2 separate regions of the Homo sapiens genome follow, and region 1 is linked to region 2. The links are contacts of gene promoters, found by promoter capture Hi-C in human tissues and cell types (Jung and others, 2019). All regions are on one chromosome and are shown on one strand. Each heading gives the region's core, a stretch centred on a gene start or on the middle of the fragment in contact. The rest is flanking DNA. Distances are from core to core; before and after follow the strand shown.

Evidence for each region. Contacts are between HindIII fragments. The study calls those that stand out against the background at their distance.
Region 1: a contact is called between a fragment that was not itself captured here and the fragment with the promoter of RPL32 in region 2, in 1 of the 25 tissues and cell types used here (spleen).

The regions. Positions count from the first base shown.
Region 1 is chr3:13,329,387-13,334,012 of GRCh38, reverse strand. NUP210 (nucleoporin 210) reads left to right here. Exons shown (of 40, transcript NM_024923.4): 29 at 1,629-1,720; 30 at 3,379-3,553. Among named protein-coding and RNA genes, the nearest start is that of NUP210, 89 kb to the left of the region's middle. RefSeq lists enhancers at 1,190-1,239, 1,560-1,919 and a silencer at 3,087-3,254. The HindIII fragment of the contact is 4,318 bases long and covers 999-4,626 here.
Region 2 is chr3:12,839,813-12,844,975 of GRCh38, reverse strand. It overlaps RPL32 (ribosomal protein L32), which reads left to right and starts at 3,411. Exons shown (of 4, transcript NM_000994.4): 1 at 3,411-3,482; 2 at 4,734-4,834. The coding sequence starts at 4,739. It overlaps SNORA7A (small nucleolar RNA, H/ACA box 7A), which reads left to right and starts at 4,526; the gene lies at 4,526-4,664. RefSeq lists enhancers at 2,833-3,082, 3,176-4,112, 4,113-5,051. The HindIII fragment of the contact is 28,801 bases long and covers 1-5,163 here.

The DNA.
Region 1 (4,626 bases), core at 1,908-4,407, 490 kb before region 2:
GAAGCAACCTTGACTCCATTAGAGCTGCACTCTCCAGTTTGCCACAGGCCCCGCCACTCCCTGTTTTCTCCCTGACAGTGATATCAAGTATCAGTTGCCATTTACCATGGTGCTCATGCTGTTGCTTTTCTTATAGTTAACAGGAAAGTGGGAAATATCTTACAACTCCCCCTCCATCTAAAGAGAGAAAATAGGAATGCATGGTTTAAAAAAAAATAGAAGGAATCCTATTTATGAATGTATTTACCAGGCAGTAAGTGTGTCCGAGTCAGACTCAGTGAGGTGGCTTCCGTGTGGATGCCGGAAGGGGGCATCCGAGTCAGCCTCGTCTCACCTGACGCCAAAACCCCACCCAGCTCCCAAAGGCTGTTTCTCACCGTTTGGGAAGTGTTGTTCCTCCTGTCACCTCATATGGAGCCCACAACTCTCAAGACAGGCATGGAGAGGACGTTAGTTGTGGACCATGTTACACACAAGGAAATCTAGGCTTACGTGGACAGAGCACAGAGGAGCTGGGAGGGGTGGAATCAGGCCATCTTCCTCTCAGAGAATCACTCGTCAGATCCGATGATATTGGCCATGGCCCAGGGCTCAGGCCCGAGGGGTGTCCACCTGGTCTGATCAGAGGCCAGTGGAGAGCTCAGGGCACAGCTTTACCTGCCAGCGAGTGGTTGCCCCTGAGCCAGGCTGGGAGGCCGAGGAGGCAGCAGCCCTGAGGGGCCTGAGAGAGGGGACTTACACAGGTGGTGGACACATCTGAAGTCTTGCAGAGAAGGGGCCTGGAGTTCCCAGGTAAGTGCTGTTGCCATGGGCTCGGGGAGCCACCAGGGCCTTGGAGCACTTGGGCGTCCCAGGATCAGATCTGAGCCGACCTCATGAGGCTGATCATTTGCCGGACTGAGCTCCTCACCAGGCCCCTGTGTGTGTCTATGTGGATCCTGCAAGAACATGGCCAGAGCCAGCCAGAGGAGCCTGGGAGGTGGAACGGGGGTTGTTCTGAGATGGTGGCAGTGAGGAGCAGGATGTCTCTGTGAGAGAAGGGAGCAGTTCGGTGGCACCTTGCCCAGGCTCAGTCCTGGCACAGTTATCCTGAGCAAACCCTGGTGCTGGAGTTGTGTGTGCTGCCCTCCGCGCTCACATCCTGGCAGGTAAAGTTCTTCCTCACTGGGCACGGAGGGAGAGGCCTGTGTTTCCAGGCTCCTTGAAGGAGCTCCCATTAGACTACACAAACATGAGCCTGCCTGTCTTTTCTCATCATATCTTTGGCCATGTGTGTGTGTGTGTGTGAGATAGGGTCTTGCTCTGTTGCTCAGACTGGAGTGCAAGCCTCAGCCTCCCAAGTAGCTGGGACTACAGTTGCACACTCCATGCCTGGCTAATTTTTAAAATTATTTTGTAGAGACTGAGGGTTTGCTGTGTTGCCTTGGCTGAGCTACTCTACCCGGCCACACCTTTGGCCTCTTAAAGGTCAGCCCTTCACATCATGTCATCAGTGACCTGACAGACGAGAAAGCCGCTTTTCTCCTCTCTGGCCCCTCCTCGGCTCTTGCTGCTAGGAGAGAAGCAGACATCTGGCCTGAATGTGACTCCAGTGCCCCATCGGAAGTGAAACTTGCCCTCTCTTGCAGGTGTTTGAGAAGCTGCAGCTGCTCAACCCTGAAATAGAAGCAGAACAAATATTAATGTCGCCCAACTCATATATAAAGCTGCAGACAAACAGGTACGTGACTCAGCTCTTGTTTCCAGCAAAGTTGTGCGGCTGTGCTTGCATCCGACACCTCATGTGTCAACACTGTCAGGAGCCATGGGTACTTTCAGGGAGGTTTTCTCCTGCTGTGCTTGGAATGGGTGAGGCCTCTGCCTGCTCCTTCTCTTCTCTGTGGTGCTCCTCTGCTTCTTGAAATCACTTCTCACTGTGGGTCTCTTTTTCCTCCTTGTAGCCTAGAAACATTTTTATGCGAGGTACTAAAATTCAGTCTTTAAAAGGGAAAAAAACACCAGCTTAGAAATGTTGTGTTTCAAGACTTGCCACTCAGAGTGTAGCCCATGAGCCAGAAGCATCAGCATCACCGGGAAGAGAAGATGCAGCTCTCAAGCCCCACCCCAGACCTGCCCAGGGAGAAGCTGCACCCTAGGGAGATCCCCAGGCGAGGGGGCCGCACAGTAACGCTTGGGAAAAGCTGTTTAAAGCTCTTCTGCAAACCTAATTCCTACCTTTGATTCCAAGGGGATGCCTTTCGTAACAGTGGCTTGCATTTGAATGGCAGTTGCCAAGCGGGAGACTCCACGGGCCACAGGACACTTACATGTTGCATGAAACACATACATGTTTTCATTCAGCCAAAAGTAACAAAGTGCCAGGCTCCATGCTGGGCTCCAGGAACACAGATATGGGTGACATAGGGTGCCCCGGAGGAGGGTAGCAGGAGAAGGCTATTAAAAAGCAAGGTGTAGTATTCAAACCAGAGCCCAAAGAAGGGTGCTGTCCATGGGGATTTAGGGGAGGCATGTCCCAGATGGAGATGCTCGGGCTGCAGTTCTTGAAGGATGAATAAGAGTTCCCCAGGTTAAGAGGAAGGGGTTGGTGGGGGAAGAATGTTTAGGCAGAGGCAATAACATTTGCTCCTAGTCATCTATAGGGCTGTGGAAGAGACAGAGATGATGGAAACTAGCCGTGGGAGCTGGAGGCCTTTGCTTCCTGGGTTTCTTTATTATATTAATAAATATGTAAAAGGGTAACAGATACGGCATAATTTGCTTCCTACCCAGTACATAGTATCAGTAGTTTGCTAACAGTTTTCTTAGCGGGTAGTCTGTTTTTATCCTGTTGACAGTCCTTAGAAATAGGACAAGACAGGATCATTACACACCTTTTACCAAGTAAGAAGTCAACGCCGAGAGAAGAGGGGACATAATGTGCACACAGCTGGTGGCAGGACATGTTGGGACCGGCTTTGGATTCTGTCGGACTCAAAGCCCCATCCTCCACTATGCCAGGATGCCTTGCTTCAGTAAATTGAGAACAATTTGCTGCAGAAATGATATTTTACAGTAGATGTCCCATGGAGCTGATGAAAGAAACTGCCCTCATAGTCTCTCCCTCCCTGCTGGCTGACCCACGGCAGGCACTGCTCTGGGAAGAGTGAGACGCCACACTTTGCTCGGAACCATTGGATTTCTGAATTACTTTTCCGTGGGTGACTGATGAAGCCTCAGACAACTGACGGCACGTGGTCCTGAGGTCCGTGGGGCCAAGATTGGGCCTTTTTTCCTCCCAGGAGCATGAGGAGCCACAGACTCTTAGATCTCCTGGCATTGTATCCAGGCCCACTCCCACTGCTGCCATCTACAAAAACAGCTCTGTTTTGTTTTCCAAAGGGATGGTGCAGCCTCTCTGAGCTACCGCGTCCTGGATGGACCCGAAAAGGTTCCAGTTGTGCATGTTGATGAGAAAGGCTTTCTAGCATCAGGGTCTATGATCGGGACATCCACCATCGAAGTGATTGCACAAGAGCCCTTTGGGGCCAACCAAACCATCATTGTTGCTGTAAAGGTAGGGTTGCATTCTCCTCCTTTTTGGAGTAATGAAAGCAATAGCACTGAGGTAATATGCCTCTCAGGTGTAAAAGTGAATACGTTCACCTTCCAGCTAAGAAACTGTAGACAGGCATTTAGAGTAACTCAGGGGCAAAGGTCCTAGGTAGATAAAAAGCTACAGCATCTTCTGGTCATCAGAGCCGAAGATCCTTGGGAAATCATTGATTCCAAGAACTTCATTTCATAGATGAGGCCCAGCAAGGTCCATGATTGGCGTAAGGTTACAGAGCTGGGACTGGCACCACAGCTTCCTGACTGGAGTGCGGGTGCTCCACCCACTGTGCCTGGCCACTGATGTTATCACCACCCATGGTGGAGCTCCTGTTCTGGGCCAGCCCAGTGTCTGGAACATGGTCTGTTCTTAAGAGCATTGAATGTTGTGCTCAGTACCTGCCATACAAGTCGTGACATCCAGTACGTGACATCCACTGTGGTTTTGAGAATGAGGTGGCCCATTTTCCAGACAAGGAGACTGAGGCTCAGAGTGAGAGTGACTTGCTTAAGCTTGCATGGGGGTTGAGTGATGGGGTCTGTCTGGTTTGGGCCGTGTCCTTCTGCCATATCATGGCACTGCCCTCTGCCGTTCTGTGTTCCTTACGGATGGGACCTTCTCCATCAGCATCCCTGGGTCAGGTCCTGGGGTTTTGCTGAATGGAATTTTCTTTCCATGTCTCATCATCACCACTTGCTGAACCCTGGATGACAGAAGACACACACTCACTTAAATCTTTAGACTCTGCCTGGGTCACAGACCTCTTTCATTAATTCACATCATTTTGTTTCAAAATGGGTGCCTGGCAGCAAATCCCCCGCTCTAGTTTTTGGTGAGTGAAAGTGACTGACTGCTCATCCTATTTCAACAAATATGTACTGAGCACTAGCTGTATACCAGACACTGCACCACTGAACTTTGTTAAAGAAATTCAGACCTTTGGAGCACTAGCTTTTGAGCGAGGATAGATTTTCACCTGGACTCAGAGAAACAAGGGCTGCTGTTTATGGAGCTCGGGTTCTTGGGCTCCAGAAATC
Region 2 (5,163 bases), core at 2,162-4,661:
GCAGCCCCTCACTCCAGGTACCAATTCACTGTATTAGTCTGTTCTCATAATGCTAATAAAGACATACCCGAGACGGGATAATTTATAAAGGAAAGAGGCTATTGACTCACAGTTCCATATGGCTGTTTACAATTCATAATCATGGCGGAAGGCAAAGGAGGAGCAAAGTCAGGTCTTACACAGCAGCAGGCAAGAAGAGTGTGCGCAGAGGAACTCCCCTTTATAAAACCATCAGATGTTGTGAGACTTATTTACTACCAAGAGAACAGTATGGGGAAAACTGCCCCCATGATTGGATTATCTCCACCTGGCCCTGCCCTTGACACTTGGGGTTTATTACAATTCATAATGAGATTTAGGTGGGGACACAGCCAAACCATATCACCAGGTAACCCTTTCTAATGACTGAGGCAGCTCCCTACTCCAGGTCCCTCGCACTATCGATTTTGCTGCCGAGAACAAGGAGGAGCCTAGTAAGGGGACCGAATCTGCCTGTAACATTGGGAAACCCTGCAGTGGCCAAGATAACCAGTCAGGAGGGGCTCCAGCTTTGGGGGGAACTTCATTCCAGAAAACCAGCCCTGACCACCTACAAAGCCCTAAAGAGGCAAAGAATGGTGCAAGCCCAGCAGAAAGCCAGCCAGGCCCTGGGCATGGAGTCTTCGAGCTGTCTTCTCTGGTGACATGCTTCCTCAGGCCACAAGGCTGAATGATACGTAAACGCCCATGCCCCCAAAGATCCAAGCACTTCCCGTTCTGCTGGCTCTTCCGGCATTCCTGTGAAGTGAGCAGAAGGCCAGGTTTGCCCGTCTCTTTTCCCCTTTCAGATGACAAAACTGATGGTTTCCTTCCCGCTCTTTAGGAGCGCATAGACACAGGCAGGTCTGCAGCAGGTGAAATTTACTCAAGCTAGAGTGCAGTGGTGCCATCATAGCTCACTGAAGCCTCCAATTCCTGGCTCAAGCAATCCTCCTGCCCTTGCCTCCCAAGTAACTGGGACTGCAAAGTGAGTGCCACCAAATCCAGCTATTTTTTTTTTTTAATATATAAATGAGGTCTTGGTTTGTTTTCCAGGCTGCTCTTGAATGCCTGGCCTCAAGCAATCCTCCTGCCCTTGCCTCCCAAGTAACTGGGACTGCAAAGTGAGTGCCACCAAATCCAGCTATTTTTTTTTTAATATATAAATGAGGTCTTGGTTTGTTTTCCAGGCTGCTCTTGAATGCCTGGCCTCAAGCAATCCTCCTGCCTTGGCCTCCCAGAGTGCTGGGATTACAGGTGTGAGCCACCATATCCAGCCCAGCTCTAGACTTTTAGAGAAATTTTAATAGTATTTTACACCACAGTGATTCCTTTTTTTAAAAAAAATTTATGTCCCTAGCATGTACAGTAAACACTAAAGTGATTCCTAAAGAATTCTTCCCTTTTATCACTTCCAGTAGGCCTCTGTGAAACCAAATCTACCTCCGCTTACAAGAAAGATGCTGGGCTGGCCTTCTCTCAAAGTCTTTCCAAACTTTTCTTGGCATTGACTTAGACACCCTAGGAATCTAACTTGAGAAAATGTTTTCATTAAAAAAAATCTCAGGAAGTAAAACCTCCTGAATGATTACTGAGTTGACATAAATCTTATGTGTATATTCTTATCAGAAAAAAAGTATCTTCATTTTGTGGGACACCAATTCATGTATTATTATTATTTTGAGACAAAGTTTCGCTCTTGTTGCCCAGGCTGGAGTGCAATGGCGCGATCTCCACTTACTGCAACCTCCACCTCCTGAGTTCAAGTGATTCTCGTGCCTCAGCCTCCCTAGTAGCTGGAACTACAGGCATGTGCCACCACACCCAGCTAATTTTTTGTAACTTTAGTAGAGATGGGGTTTCACCATGTTGGCCAGGATGGACTCGAACTCCTGACCACAGGTGATCTGCCCACCTCAGCTTCCCAAAGTGCTGGGATTACAGGCATGAGCCACCGCGCCCAGTCGCTGGGTCTTACAGTAACTTTATGTTTAACATTTTGAGGAAATGCTATTCTTTTCCAAAGTGACTGCACCATTTCATATTTGCACTAGCACTGTACGGACATTCCCATTTCTCTGTCCTAGTGAGTGTGAAATGGTATCTCACTGCAGTTCCAGTTTGTATTTCCCTGATGGCTAATGATGTGGATCATTTCATGTGTTCATTGGCCACAGAGAAATGTCTATTTGGATTCTTTACCCATTTTTCAATTGGGTTATTTGTCTTTATAGGTTTGTTGTTGTTGAGACAGAGTCTTGCTCTGTCACTCAGGCTGGAGTGCAGTGGCATTATCACAGCTAACTGCAGTCTAGAACTGCTGGGCTCACGTGATCATCCCAGCTCAGCCTCTCGAGTAACTGGGACTACAGGCATGCGCCACCAGCCCCAGCTAATTATTTTATTTTTTGTAGAGACAGGGTCTTACTATGTTGCCTAGGCCGGTCTTGAACTCCTGGGCTCAAGCAAATCTCCCACCTCAGACTCCCAAAGTATTGGAATTATAGGTGTGAACCATAGTGCTCAGCCAATTTGCACAATAATCTTAAATACAAAAGCTAAGCAAAACAAATCAAGAGCATCTTTAAAAACTAGGCAGTCTGGGAGGCAGGGGCTGCCGTGAGCCGTGAGATGGCACCTTTGCATTCCAGCCTAGGTGACAGAGGGAGGCCCTGTCTAAAAAAAACCAAAAACCAAAAAACAAAACAAAACAAAAAACATCTAGGCAGTAGCTCGTGCCCGTAATCCCAGCTACTCAGGAGGCTGAGGCGAGAGAATCGTTTGAGCCCAGGAGTTCAAGACCAGCCTGGGCAACAGAGTGAGACCCCATTTCTAAAAAATGAACAAAGAAAAACTAGGCAGTTTCGCCCAGTGGTTAGAAGCGTGGAGTTTGGAGTCAAGTCTCCAAATTTCATCTTCCACATATGCAAAATGGAGACAATAATAGGGGTACGTTATAGAATTGTGGTAGGCATAGTGAACTCCATCGCATGTTAGCTGTTTTCGTTACTATTTACTGTCTAAATTCGGTGATGAAATTATTAGGAAGTCTCTGTCTTGTTCTCTTCTGACCACTAAGAGGCGCACTTCGGAGTAGAAGAAACGCGGGCGGAAATAGCCCAAAAGCGGATTGGCTTCGACTTCTGGCGGAAGTAAATTCCTCCCTCCACCAGGTCTTATTAGCTCAGAAAGAATTCCAAATTTCTACGTAGTCCCAAGGATAGGTAGAATACATTTCTCAGTCCTATTCCTAGTTATTATTGTCTATTAAAACATGTATACTCAGAATTTTTGCGGCATTATTTTTTGACGTGTCTTTATTTTATTTAAAAGAGCCGGAGCCGGAAGTGCTTGCCTTTTTCCCTGCTAGGACCCAGGGGTTACGACCCATCAGCCCTTGCGCGCCACCGTCCCTTCTCTCTTCCTCGGCGCTGCCTACGGAGGTGGCAGCCATCTCCTTCTCGGTAAGTGTTAATCCGTGGCAATCCGCATTCCTGCGGGATTCATCTGGCCCCGTCGCCCAGTGGTGCGGAGGCCTCCCCTTCAGCGCGGTAGTGTCTGTGGGTATTGTTATTGTCAGCTTACTGGAGCGTGTACAGGAACAGAACGAAGCCGCCGAGTTGATAGGGCTTTGCGTCCCAGAGCCTCCTGCCCTCCGCCTGTATTCAGAGCTGCGGGCTGCTTGTTTGTTCCTTGGCGGTGGAGGGTGCTAGTTGAGGCCAGACTTCGGGGTCTCCTGGGGGCCGTGGGACGACCAGGGGTGGCCCAGCTTGACAGCTTTCAGCTGGGATCTGTGGATCCCAGCGCTCACCAATGTCGGCCCACGTGTATTCGTTCATGCCATGGCCGGCTTCTTCCGCTGCAGTCTCTGGCCCGAGGGCTGCTGCTGCGGGACCGCCAAGGAAAGACGAGCTGTAGGTCGGCTGGTCCAGCTGCAGGCAGAAATTCTGGTAGTATCTCTGGGAATATGAAGATGCAACTGCCCCCACCTTGCCTTCGAGGATATCATGGGCCAGAAGGCAGAGTCGTTTTGAATACGTGGTTCATTGAGTACCCACTCTGGGCCAGTTGATGGCTGCGAAGAGAGCAGAAGGGGTGCTGCTGTAGGAAATCAATGGCTCGGAAGACCACACTGAGGAAGGTGTGAGTTGATACTGGAAGATCTCCAGGTTTGAGGCATCTTCAGAGGTATATGGTGGTTTTGTGTGTGTTGAGGGTGTGGTAGCGCAGCAGCTCCCTAGGGAATTAGAAGGTTTTATTGAACATTTACCCTGTGACAGGCACTGCAGGCATTCAGCGCGCAGTGTCATCTTCATTTTACAGGTGAGGAAAAGACTCAGGTTCAAGTAGATGGTCAAGGCCAGTACTACCGGAAGGACCATCTGGGGGTTCGGACACTGGTGGGGTGGGATTTGCTGCCCCTTGCAAATTGAGAGTGTCTTGGGGTCAGTTTTGATTTGCTCAGCTGTTGGCATTCTTTGGGCTCTGAGTGGGTGAGGTGACCCTTGACCTCCTGGGATCGCATCTGGAGAGTGCCTAGTATTCTGCCAGCTTCGGAAAGGGAGGGAAAGCAAGCCTGGCAGAGGCACCCATTCCATTCCCAGCTTGCTCCGTAGCTGGCGATTGGAAGACACTCTGCGACAGTGTTCAGTCCCTGGGCAGGAAAGCCTCCTTCCAGGATTCTTCCTCACCTGGGGCCGCTTCTTCCCCAAAAGGCATCATGGCCGCCCTCAGACCCCTTGTGAAGCCCAAGATCGTCAAAAAGAGAACCAAGAAGTTCATCCGGCACCAGTCAGACCGATATGTCAAAATTAAGGTATGTGGTCCTGGGATGGAAATGGGTGTGGGGTGAAGAAAAGAGTTTCCAACAGTTTCTGACATCACCTAGTCAGGATTATCTTTGACCGATGAACTGGCTTGTGGAAGAGCTTTCTGTAGAAATACAGGTCTCCCCCAGTGTGCCCTAGTGCTGGTACTTATGTCTCTTGATGTGTGAAGCGAAACTTTAATGAAAAGGGACATTTGGCCGTTTTGATGTGTTCAGAGGGCTTTGCATTTGTGTCCTGTATTTTGGGTTGCCTTGTGACAGCAGGATCCCTATTTTATAGACAAGAAAACTCAGGTGCTGAGAGCAGTGTCTGCAGC